Linked DNA regions of Homo sapiens: region 2 is linked to region 1. Evidence: promoter capture Hi-C in human tissues and cell types (Jung and others, 2019). All regions are on one chromosome and are shown on one strand. Each heading gives the region's core, a stretch centred on a gene start or on the middle of the fragment in contact. The rest is flanking DNA. Distances are from core to core; before and after follow the strand shown.

Region 1 (6,541 bases), core at 2,942-5,441:
AACTAGTAGGCAATCCACCAGCAGTAAAGCTGCAAACAGGGTAATGGTCAGTTTAAGGATTGCCTTCATGTCTTGAAAAAGTTTCAGTGGCTTGGGGGACTTGGTTAAAATAGAGTTCACTGGTGTCTTGTGGCTGTAAGTGGGGACACATTTAAATGGGTCACCTAGCAGCTGGCAAAAGAAAAAAAAAACCCAGGAAATGGAAACTATAACGTTAGAGTCCCAAGACAAGGGTGCCCAGAGTTGGCTGTGGTGGATAGATACTTAGGTCAGTCCTCCCACCCCCACCCCCAGACCACACTCATAAATAAATACAAAGGAAATACTTTCCCGAGAGAGCCGGCCTCTCTCCCTTGGCCTCTGACCTCCCTGAGCGGCCGTTTCCTCCAGCCCCGGGACCCCGGCTCTCTCCCCGCGCTCTGCCCCTCGCCAAGGGTTGTAGCAGCGGCCGGAGGGGTAGCCAGCACCTGGCCTGGCCCCGTGCTCCAGGGGGAGCCTCCTCCCGGCCGGCTGTGCTGAGCTCCGCAGCGCCGGGTGACTCCCTGCCAGGTCACACGGAGCTTATCTGGCTCCAGGTGTGCTCCCTCACGCCGACTGCACGCTTCTCACGTGACATTAGCCAGCCCTCACGCCGCCGCGCGGGGAGCCGGGCGGCCCTTGGCGTTTCCCCGCGGCTGGGCCGGCGCAGCCGCAGCCCCGCGGCGCCTCCCGCTGCGATCCCATCTCCCCCGGAAGGCAGCAATCCCGCGGGCCATGGAGGAACGCGAGCGGGAGAGCTCCTGCGGCCTCGCCAGGTTCCCTGCTGCTCTTCCAGGTGCACCGCCTGGCGCTCAGTTCCGCTAACATCCCCTTCCGTGTGACCTTGAGCAAGTCCCCTCCCCTCTCTAAGCCTCCACTATTTCAGCTACAGTTATCTTCAAGGGCCTGACAGCTCAGATTTGGCCCTCAGCCTCTGCTGGAGAGCTATTCTGCTCAACCACACACTGCAGGTTGTAATCCCGCTCTGCCTCTGACTTGCTGTGTGACCTTCAGCCCATCATCCAACCTCTCTGAATATTAGAGAATAATCACAATAATCTCTTGTAAGTGATGATAAACTACTTGGCAGACAGAAAGGGCCCTGGGTCCTGTAAAATCATCAGTCTAACAACCAAAACTGCTGCCTGACTCTAAACTGTTTAAAATGTCAAGGGAAATTGACATTTTACAAGCCCTGCAATTCCTACCTCAAAAGAAGGGCAGGGAAGTGAAGGTGGGAAGTGGAGGCTCACCAGGTCTGCTCACCACCCCTCCCAATCCAGCTCCTACCTCGGCACCTCCCCAACTCCTCTAATTCAGGCCACCTTGGAAAATGCTAGGGGGAAGAAATGGTGATGGGGTGGGGTGTGCAGATCTTAAAGCACCCGGGGGTCTGACCCAAAGCAGAACTTAAACTCCATCAAGCTGCCCTACCAATCCCAAGTCCTGTGGGAACCTGTCAATTACAGCAGACAGTGGGCTGGGCCCTCCTACTGCCCCAAACCTTTAAACTACAACCAGCCAGAGCCCCTCAGTTTTCCCACCACACTCAGGCCTGGGACCCCAGGCCACCAACAAAACCCAGCTCACGTGGATGCTCTGGCTCCTGCCTGTGGCGTCCACCCCAGGTGAGAGGATCTGGCTGAGGAGAGACCTCTGGTTTGAAGGATTAAGAACAGCCCTGCTGCCCTGAAGACCTGTGACACAGCAAGTCCAGATGAAGGCTTCCTGAGTTCCAACAACTCCCAGCTCCACCTCAGCAGGGTGGATTCTCCCTTTCACATGAGCCCCAGTTCTGCCCCACCCAGTCCACCTTTAGGTACCTGCCTCTGGGGGACCCAGAGTTTTCAGGCCCAGTTTCTGAAGACACATGCAGTCCTCAATGAATAGCCACTACCAGGGCCAGTGAGGGGGCCTCCAGGGAACTGGCTGGCTACCCAGACAGCCCAGGAGTGAGGCTGAGAGACCAGGTGGGAGTCAGGAAGGGCATAACCCACATGAGGAAAGTCTGGGGCGCAGGAGGAAGCCCTCAGGCACACACTCTGGCACCTGGGCCAGGCCAGGAGAGAGTAAACAAACTAGACACTCAGAGCTACCAGGCACCAGGTCATCAACTGTTCAAAGTTCAAAGCTCCCAAAGGAAGTGACCGCCAGCCTGTGGCCCCTCCCATGCCCACCCTCCACCCCCACCTACAACCCTTCTCATTCCCCTAATCCCTCAACACAATAGCTGCCCCCAAAGCCATGGTTTTCCTGGAATTGAGGCCACAACCCCCATGTCCTCAACCCAAAATGGACAAGCACACCTCCACCCGAGGCTATATATAACCCGTCATGTCAAATCCAGAAACCAGGAGGATGTTTCCTGGAAAGACTTCATCACAAAAAAACAGAGAGGAAGCTGAGGAGGTGGGAAGCCATGGACAAAGAGCCAGTGAGGCTTGTCAGGAAGCCAGAGACCTCAGGAGAGCAACTTTCAATATCTCCAGATAGAAAGTAGCCCCTGAACTAAAAAGGGTGGGGAACATTAGGCCAGGCCTGTTGCCACAACAACAGGGCACCAACCTGCTCAAGAAAAGGGCTCCAAAGCACAAGGGAAAGGCGGCTGATTCAATGGGCTCTGTACTCACCGTCCTGCTCAGGTGATCTTGCTCTTAATCACCCAGGTGGCCTCCCCTCCCTTCCAGCACACCCCAGTGCATACACACTTCCCAGAGCTCACTTGCCACAGGGGCACTGATGAGGCCTTCTCGGCCACAGACACGCCAGGGGCTCCAAAAGACAAGACGAACCCACACTAACTAGCCCAAGTCATTGGCAGGGTGAAGCAGGGAGGGAATCCAATTCTTTAATTCGGGGTGGCCATCTGAGGGAATGAAAGCCCTAGCCAGGACAGTCCCTCTCAGGAAGCATTCCCCCAGCCCTCCCCACACAAATACAAACTATGAGGCCAGCGCCAAACACATGCCCCATTGGCAAAGTGGTCAGGCAAAATGAATACCCGCTCAAAAACAAACTGGCTGTCTTCCTCCCCATCTCCCCCACCCCCCACCTCTAGCTCATTCTGGCCGCAACCTTTCCAACTAATCAGCAAGACACATGTGCCTTGCAGTAGGGCAACTCCCCCATCTCCACCCCCAAAACAAAGCCCCAATGCCTGGCCTGTCCCTGCGGGCCTTATCGCACCCAGGAACATGACCCACACTCCTGGCCGGGTTTGGGACCAAGGAGCGCACCCCCACTAACAAGGGGCAGGGTGAGGGGGCAGCCACCCCTACCACCTCCCCTTCCCATTGGCGAAACAACTGGCATGACAGGTTAGCAGGGCGGGGCGTCGGGGCGGTCTCTCCAGAGGCCTGGGGCAGCTTGTCCGACCTTCCCACACGCACCCCACCCCTCTGCAGGGAAAGGTGAGGTGAGCATTCAGTCTCAGGGCACAGCCTGCACTCCCTAATCCCCAAAGCCTGCCACCATTCACCCTCTCATCTTCTGTCCCAAGAGGAGGGGGCCCAGGGAAGCGGGGTCTCCATTGTTTTGCCAGCTGTCTAGCAGCTGCTCCTTTGAGAGGAGCCCGCAGTCTGCCCGGCAGTGAAAGAGTGAAGGCCGCTGGGAGGGATAAAAGGGTCGGTAGAGGTGCTCCCCTTCCCCGCTGCCTTCCTCAGCGCCCCGCTCTCTCGCTCGCTCCATCGTGGGGCCTGGACGGGGGCAGGAGAAGTCCCCCCACCCTCGAGGCTGCAGCCCCCACCCCGCAGCTCCGGGCCACCTGGGCGCCTCCAAGCCCCAAATCCCCCCACACTGAAGGCCACCCTGTCCTGCCTCCCTGCGCCCCCCAGGTTGGCTGGAAGGGCCGGTGGTTCCCCCTTCCCCGCCGCTCCCGATCGGCCCCCACCCCCGGGCGTCGAGCTCCACGGCGCCGCCAGGGACGGGAGCCGGGAGTCCGGGCCGCTGCTTCCAGGGGACGGGGGAGGAGGAGGAGGAGCCGGCGGGCCCCGCCGCCCGCCCGCCCTCCCTCCCGGCCGGAGCCCGCCCCGCCGCCCCACCAAGCCGGGCCCGCCACCGAGCGGCCGCCGCCGCCGACCGGCACTCACCGGCCACCGGAGCCCGCCCGGCAGGCAGCAGAAGCGGAGACGCGGCATCCAGCAGCCTCGGCCCGGTCAGGGATGGAGCAGAGCGCAGCGCGGCGCAGCTCAGCGCCGCCCCCAGCGACCGCGCAGGCCGAGCCGAAAGGGAGCTCCCTGCTGGCGGCTGTGGGGATAAACGCCCGGCCTGCCTGGCAGCGCCAGTGCGCGCCGCCAGACGTGGGCCAGGCGGGCCGGGCGCTGCCCTGGCAGCCTCCGTCCGCTGTGGACTCCGAAGCCCCTCTCGCTGTGTCTGAGAGAGGCCCTGCCTGGAGTTTCTGTCTGCACTGGGCACTGGAGGCTGTCCGAAAAGGGTCCGAAAGGGGCTGAGTGGCACTGCCTAGGACAGGCACCAGGGTCATGATGAACGTATAGAAGAGGGGCTGTCCAAGGCAGGCACCGAACTCTGCAGGCTGTGTTCAAGGTAGTGCTGTCTAAAGGAAGCAATTAAGTCTTACTGGCCGCCTCCTCCCAAGGTGGCTCTGCAGAGGCACACACAGGGCCCTGCTGGATGGTGCCCCAGGCTCAGTCCAGACCAGGTACTGCCTGCCATGTCCGAGATGGCACTGCCAGAATGCACTCCCCAAGGTAAAAACAGACTCCCAATAGCTTGGTCTGATACAGCCCTGCCTCAAAATGGAGTGGATCAAGAGGCGTACCAGGGCCCGGGAGCCATGGCTGTAAGTGCCACTCACTCCCTAAAGGAGTTCACCAATGCCAAGATTAACACTTTCAGAAGCTCTTTGGAATGCAGTCTGTCCCTGGGTCCACTGTGTGCTGTAAATATCAAGTGAGCTGCTGTACCCACCAAGAAGACAGTTTATACTTCCTGGGAGAGGCCAAGGGACATCCAGATACCAGGCCTCCAAGATAGGTGCTATGTCTAGAGTTTGGAGAAAGAAAGAAATGGGGACACTTCCCTGGGCAGTGTCCATGCTGGAGTGGGGTGTGCCAGAATGTGGAAGAAACTGAGTGGGGTGGTGCAGGAAGAAGGGTGTAGCAGACAAATGCTGCTACCTCCCTAGACAGCCCAAACAGGAACTTCTCCAGGCAAGGGCAGCCCAACCTGACAGACCAGGGAAGGCTGGAGCAAGGAGGCTCAGAAAGCAGAGAGTTGAGTAAGAGTTAGGGAGTTCCTGAGGAATAGACCCAGGCGGGATACACATTTTGGAATAACATGCAACTCAAATTCAATTTAACAAACTGCCTGCTAAGTGCCAAGTGCAGCCCCAGGCACTTGGGGTGACACAGAAGGAGATCAGACATGGCATATCTCCAGGGAAATCACATGGGGAACAGGTAGACCTGAGCTGTGACAGTAGTAGGGTTCACCATGCTGGCATTACTTGGATGATGAGATAGGTGCTATGATGGGAGGCTTATTTGGCTTGAGGAGTGAGAAGAGCAGCTTCAAAAACATGACATTTGAGGCCAGGCATGGTGGCTTATGCCTGTAATCCCAGCACTTTGGGAGGCTGAGGTGGGCAGATCACTTGAGGCCAGCGTTCAAGACCAGCCTGGCCAACATGGCGAAACCCCATCACTACTACAAATACAAAAAATTAACCAGGCGTGGTAGTGCATGTCTATAATCCCAGCTACTTGGGAGGCTGAGGCAGGAGAATCTCTTGAACCTGGGGAGCAGAGGTTGCAGTGAGCGGAGATTACACCACTGTACTTCAGCCTGGGCGACAGAGCAAGACTCTGTCTCCAAAAAAGAAAAAAAAAAAACCCCAAAAACATGACATTTGAGCGGAACCTTGCAGGCTAAGTAGGACAACGACTATCATTAGTGTTTCCTGAGTACCTATTATATACTAGACACTATCTCTACTCCTCACAATGAACCTATGAGGGAGACATTATTATTATAGATAGGGGTTGAGTGCATGGACTCTGGAGCTGGATTGCCTGGATTCAAAATCTCAGTTCTGTAAAGTACTAGCTGTGTTACTCTGGGTGATTTTTTATAAATCACCTCTCTGTGCTTCACTTTGCTCATCCAAAAAATTGGGATAATAACAGTGACTCCCTCCCTCAAAATTTGTTTTGAAAATTATATAAGCTTAGTCTTTTCAACACATGGGGCTTTTCAACAAACTGGACATCCACATGCAAAAAAAAAAAAAGGGGGGGGTCTAGACACAGACTTTATACCCTTCACAAAAATTAACTCAGAATAGATTATATACCTAAATGTAAAACACAAAACTATAAAACTGTCTCCTAGAGGATAACATAGGAGAAAACCTAGATGACCTTGAGTATCACAATGACTCTTTAGATACAACACCAAAGGCACCATAAAAGAAAGAGCTGATAAGCTGGGCTTCATTAAAATTAAAAATGTCTGCTCTGCAAAAGACTGTCAAGAGAATGAGAAGACAAGCCACAACTGGGATAAA
Region 2 (6,541 bases), core at 3,320-5,819, 290 kb after region 1:
TAAATTATATAATTGAGTTGTAAACTATAGGCATGACTTGGAGATATTGTGGGTTTTGTTCTCAACCACTACAATAAAGCAAATATCATAATAAAGCAAGTCACATGAATTTTTTGGTGCCCAGTGCATATGAAAATTATGTCTAGGCCTGGCACAGTGGCTTACGCCTGTAATCCCAGCACTTTGGAAGGCCGAGGCAGGCGGATCACTTGAGGTCAGGAGTTTGAGACCAGCCTGGCCAATGTGGTGGAAAACCCTGTCTCTACTAAAAATACAAAAATTAGCCAGGCATGGTTGCAGGTGCCTGTAATTCCAAGGTACTTGGGAGGCTGAGGCAGGATAATCACTTGAACCCAGGAGGAAGAGGTACAAGAATCACTTGAACCCAGGAGGCGAAGGCTGCAGTGAGTCAAGATTGTGCCACTGCACTCCAGCCTGGACAACAACACAAGACTTCATCTAAAAAATATATATATATATATGTCCATGCTATACTGTAGTACCGTAGTCCATTAAGTGTGCAATAACATTTTGTCTAAAAAAGACAGTGTACGTACCTTAATTTTAAAATATTTTCTTTCTTTTTTTTTTTTTTTTTTTTTTGAGATGAAGTCTCACTCTGTCGCCAGGCTGGAGTGCAGTGGCGCAATCTTGGTTCACTGCGACCTTCGCCTCCCGGGTTCAAGTGATTCTCCTGCTTGCCTCCCGAGTAGCTGGGACTACAGGTGCCCGCTACCACGCCTGGCTAATTTTTTGTATTTTTAGTAGAGACGGGGTTTCATCATCTTGGCCAGGATGGTCTCGATCTCTTGACCTCGTGATCCCCCCACCTCGGCCTCCCAAAGTGCTGGAATTACAGGCGTGAGCCACCGCGCCCAGCTTAAAATATTTTATTTCTAAAAAAAAGTTAATGATAATTTGAGCCTTCAGCATGTCATACTATTTTTGCTGGTTGAGAATCTTGCTTCCATGTTGATGGCTTCTGACTGATCAGGGTAGTGGTTGCTGAAGGTTAAGGTGGCTGTGGCAATTTCTTAAAATCTGACAACAGTGAAGTTTGCCCATCAGTTTTCTCTTTCACAAAAGATTTCTCTGTAGAATGCAATGATGTTTGACAGCATTTTACCCATGATAAAACTTTCAAAATTGGAGTCCATCCTCTGTAACTCTGTTACTGCTTTATCAACTAAGTTTATGTAATATTCAGAAATTACTTTCTTTGCCCATCTATTACAAATAGTTTCTCATCCACTCAAGTTTTATCATGAAATTGCAGCAGTGTAGTCACATCTTCAGGCTCCATGTGTAATTCCAGTTTTCCTGCTGTTTCCACCACATCTGCAATTATTTCCTCCACTGAAATATTGAACCCCCCAAAGTCATCCATGAGGGTTGGAATCCACTTATTGCAAACTCCTGATAATGTTGCTAATTTGCCCTCCCATGAGTCGGAAACGTTCTTAATGGCATCTAGAATGAATTATTTCCAGAAGATTCTCAATTTACTTTGCCCATATCCATCAGACAAATTGCTGTCTATGGCAGCTATAGCCGTTGTGTGTTTTTTTTTTTTTTGAGATGGAGTTCATTCTTGTCGCCCAGGCTGGAGTGCAATGGCATGATCTCGGCTCACTGCAACCTCTGCCTCCCGGGTTCAAGCGATTCTCCTGCCTCAGCCTCTCGAGTAACTGAGATTATAGGCCTGCATCCCCATGCCTGGCTGATTTTTGTATTATTAGTAGAGACAGGGTTTTGCCATGTTGGCCAGGCTGGTCTCGAACTCCTGACCTCAGGTGATCCACCTGCCTCGGCCTCCCAAAGTGTTGGGATTACAGGCGTGAACCACCATGCCCAGCTGCTATAGCCTTTCTTTCTTTCTTTTTTTTTTTTTTTTTGAGATGGAGTTTCGCTCTTGTTGCCCAGGCTGGGGTGCAATGGCACTATCTCGGCTCACCGCAACCTCCGCCCCGCTGGGTTCAAGTGATTCTCCTGCCTCAGCCTCCCAAGTAGCTGGGATTACAGTCATGCACCACCACGCCCGGCTCATTTTGTATTTTTTTAGTAGAGACAGGGTTTCTCCATGTCGGTCAGGCTAGTCCTGAACTCCCGACCTCAGGTGATCCGCCCGCCTCGGCCTCCCAAAGTGCTGGGATTACAGGCGTGAGCCACTGTGCCCTGCTGGCCTTTCTTAAATAATAAGGCTTGGAACTCAAAATTATTCCTTGATCCATGGGCTGCAGAATGGATGGTGTATTAGCAGGAATAAAAACAACATAAATCTCCTTTTATATCTCTATCAGAGTTCTTGGGTGGCTAGGTACACGGGCAAAGACCAGTAATATTTTGAAAGGAATCTTTCTGAGCAGTAAATCTCAACCGTGGCCTTAAAATATTCACTAAACCATGCTTAAATGGATGTACTGTCATCCAGGCTTTGTTGTTTCATTGAACAAGCACAGGCAGAGTAGGAGTTTTGGAATGGTAAATGTGCATTGACTTCAACTTAAAATCACAAGCTGCATTAGCCCCTAACAAGAGAGTCAGCCTGTCCTTTGAAGCTTTGAAACCAGGCATTTCATAGTTGCTCTGTAGCCATGAAAGTCCTAGATGGTATCTTCTTCCAATATAAGGCTATTTCATCTACACTGAAGATCTGTTGACTGGGCATGGTGGCTCACACCTGTAATCTCAGCACTTTGGGAGGCCAAGGTAGGTGGATCACTTGAGGCCAGGAGTTCGAGACCAGCTTGGCCAACATGGTGAAACCCCGTCTCTGCTGAAAATAGAAAAATTACCCAGATGTGGTGGCAGGAGGAATGCTTGAACCCAGGAGGCAGAAGTTGTAGTGAGCCAAGATCATGCCACTGCACTCCAGTGTGGATGGCAGAGTGAAACTCTCAAAAAAAAAAAAAAAAAATCTGTTGCGTAATGTAGCCACCTTCATCAATGACACATTGGCTAGATCTTCTGGATAACTTGCATGTAGCCTCTACATCAGTACTTGCTGCTTCACCTTGCACTTTTCTTTCTTTCTTTTTCTTTTTTTTTTGAGACAGAGTCTCTCTCTGTTGCCCAGGCTAGAGTGCAGTGGCACTATCTTGGCTCACTGCAGCCTCCGCCTCCTGGGTTCAAACGATTCTCCTTCCTCTGCGTTTCCTCCCTAGTAGCTAGGACTACAGGCACGCATCACCACACCTGGCTAATTTTTGTGTGTTTAGTGGAGATGGGGTTTCACCTTGTTGGCCAGGCTGGTCTTGAACTCCTGACCTCAAGTGATCTGTCCGCCTTGGTCTCCCAAAATGCTGGGATTGATTATAGGAGTGAGCTACCGTGCCGGCCTACCTTGCATTTTTATTTTACGGAGATAATTTCTTTCCTTAAACCTGATGAAGCAACCTCTACTAGCTTCCAACTTTTCTTCTTCAGCTTTCTCACCTCTCTCAGCCTTTGTAGAGTTAAAGAGAGTTAGGGCCATCCTCTAGATTAGACTTTGTTTTACGGGAATGTTGTCGCTGATTTGATTTTCTATCCAGACCATTAAAGCTTTCTTCACATCAACAATAAACTTGTTTTACCTTCTTATCATTCATATATTCACTGGAGTAGCACTTTAAATTTTCTTCAATAACTTTTTCTTTGCATTTACAACTTGGCTATTTGGTGCAAAAGGCCTAGCTTCAAAGCCTGTCTCAGCTTTTGACATGCCTTTCTCACTAAGCTTAATCACTTGTAAGTTTTGAATTGAAGTGACAGATGTGTGAGTATTCCGTTCACTTGAACACTTAGGGGTCACTGTGGGGTTATTGATGGCCTAATTTCAACATTATTGTGTCTCAGAGAATAGGGAGGCCCAAGGAAAGGGAGACAGACTGGGGAATGGCTGGCTGGTGGAACTGTGAGAATACATGTTTATTGATTAAATTCACCATCTTATATGGGCACAGTTCATGGCTCCCCAAAACAATTACAATAGTAATGTAAACAATTACTGATCACAGATCACCATAACAGATATAATAATAATGATGAAAAAGTTTCAAATATTGTGAGAGTTACCAAAAGGTGACACAAAGACATCAAGTGAGCCCATGCTATTGGAAAAATGGTGCTGGTAGACTTGCTTTGACACAGGATTGCTACAAACCTTCAATTTGTTTTAAAAAAAAAAAAGTAACATCTGTGAAGTACAATAAAGCAAAGTGCTGTAAATTGAGATATGCCTGTATATGAATGTTATTTATTTATTTATTTGTTTTATTTTTGAGACCGAGTTTCGCTCTGTCACCAGGCTGGAGTGCAGTGTGGCTCGATCTCGGCTCACTGCAACCTCCACCTCCCGTGTTCAAGCTATTCTCCTGCCTCAGCCTCCCGAGTACCTGGGACTATAGGTGCACACCACCACGCCCAGCTAATTTTTGTATTTTTAGTAGAGACACGGTTTCACCATGTTGGCCAGGATGGTCTCAATCTCCTGACCTTGTGATCCACCTGCTTCAGCCTCCCAAAGTGCTGGGATTACAGGCGTGAGCCACTGTACCTGGCTGAATATAATTTATTTAAACTTTTTAATTTTGACATTTTATCTAAAAATGACCATATTTTGGGAGGCCAAGACAAGTGAATCACTTGAGGTCAGGAGTTTGAGACCAGTCTGAGCAATGCAGTGAAACCCCATCTGTACAAAAAATAGAAAAATTAGATGAGCATGGTGGTGTGCGCCTGTAGACCCAAATACTTGGGAGGCTGAGGTGGGAGGATCACTTGAGCCCACAAGATGGAGGTTGCAGTTAGCTGAGATTGTGCCACTGCACTCCAGCCTGGGTGAAAGAGCAAGACCCTCCCAATAAATAAGTAAAACCAAGCAAAGTTGCATGTTCTTGTTAACTCTTCTAAATTTAGTAATTACTTTTATTCTTATATAACTTTCTGAGGAAAAGTCCTGTTCATAATTCTTTACCTTTTTTCTCCCCACAGAAATGGCAGGATATTATTAAGGAAGTCAAGTTTCTACAAAGAATAAAACATCCCAACAGTATAGAATACAAAGGCTGTTATTTACGTGAACACACAGCATGGGTTGGTATTTGTTCTCCCCTTGTTGCAGTTTTAGCTGATTTTGGTTTATAATGAATTAATTCAGAATATCTCATACTGGTTGTGTAAATGCATGCAAAAACACCTGAAATGTTAGTTCGTACTGAAAGAAAACAAGCAATATTTCCTAGAACTTGTAGGCAGTAAGAGATAATAGAACTTTTGCAAGTCTCACTGCAGAGATTTTTCAGAATTCTGTTGACCTTTGTATGTATGATAAAATGTCCTATGACAGTTTTAGTAGTACCATTCAAACATTGTGAAAACAATCATGTTACTTGAGGTTGAAAGTTAGCATATGTTTTCTTGACATAAATGTACTGTAATGCATTTAACCAGAAAGATCATGATGAAATTTGGGTGAATCCTGGTGAAATTTGAGCTGATCACGATTCCTTGGTCGAATAACACTAAAGATAGAGAATTGTTGCACTTTATTATAAGAAGTAGAAATTTATTTTGCCCTTTTGTTACCAGGAATGGCCCCTTATTTTGAATAATTAATAAGTCACAGCTAAGTATCATTTTAGTATACGTACTGTAGATTTAGATTTGTAGTGTTTGGTGCATTTTTATCCAGTTTGTTTTGGTAGTGGTAGTGGTGACTTGTAAAATTGAGGCTATGATTAAAGAAAAAGTAACATTAGATGGGTAACCTCTCTGCCTCTCAGGGTTCTCCAACCATAAAACAAGGATACTAATAGGACCTACCTCATAAGATTATTCTGAGGATTAAATTGGTTACTATATAAAAAATACCTGGCACATAGGAGGTGCTCTGTGTTTGCTTTCAAAGAAACAGTTGTAACCTAAGCTTTGTATAGTTTTTCCTCAGTATCTGTGGGGGATTTGGTTCCAGGACACCCACCCCCAGGATACCAAATCCCTTCTATAAAATGGAGTATCTGCACATAACCTGGGCACATCCACCTATTATTTTTTCAATCATCTGTAGATTAGTTATAATACCACAATGTGAATGCCATGTAAATAGTTGTTACGTTATATTGGCTTTTTGTTTTATTTTTATTGTTATATTGTCATTTTTTAAAATTTTATTTATTTATTTATTTTGAGACAGAGTCTCACTCTGTCGCCCAGGCTGGAGTTCAGTGGCGCAATCACGGCTCACTGCAAGCTCCGCCTCCCAGGTTCATGCCATTCTCCTGCCTAAGCTTCCCGAGTAGCTGGGACTGCAGGCACCCACCACCACACCCAGCTAATTTTTTATATTTTTAGTATAAATGGGGTTTCACCGTGTGTGCCAGGATGGTCTCAATCTCCTAACCTGGTGATCTGCCTGCCTCGGCCTCCCAAAGTGCTGGGATTATAGGCATGAGCCACCGTGCCCAGCCAATTTTTTTATTTTTTCAATTATTTTTGATATATAGTTGGTTGAATCTACAAATCTAGAACCCACAGATGTGAAGGGCTGACTATACATATA

What was found. Contacts are between HindIII fragments. The study calls those that stand out against the background at their distance.
Region 2: a contact is called between a fragment that was not itself captured here and the fragment with the promoter of MYO18A in region 1, in 1 of the 25 tissues and cell types used here (lymphoblastoid cells).

Annotation. Positions count from the first base shown.
Region 1 is chr17:29,176,207-29,182,747 of GRCh38, forward strand. It overlaps MYO18A (myosin XVIIIA), which reads right to left and starts at 4,192. Exons shown (of 42, transcript NM_078471.4): 1 at 4,107-4,192. RefSeq lists silencers at 665-864, 3,866-3,915, 4,036-4,085, 4,051-4,271. The HindIII fragment of the contact is 14,487 bases long and covers 1-6,541 here.
Region 2 is chr17:29,470,696-29,477,236 of GRCh38, forward strand. TAOK1 (TAO kinase 1) reads left to right here. Exons shown (of 20, transcript NM_020791.4): 4 at 4,975-5,076. Among named protein-coding and RNA genes, the nearest start is that of MIR4523, 83 kb to the left of the region's middle. The HindIII fragment of the contact is 3,038 bases long and covers 3,051-6,088 here.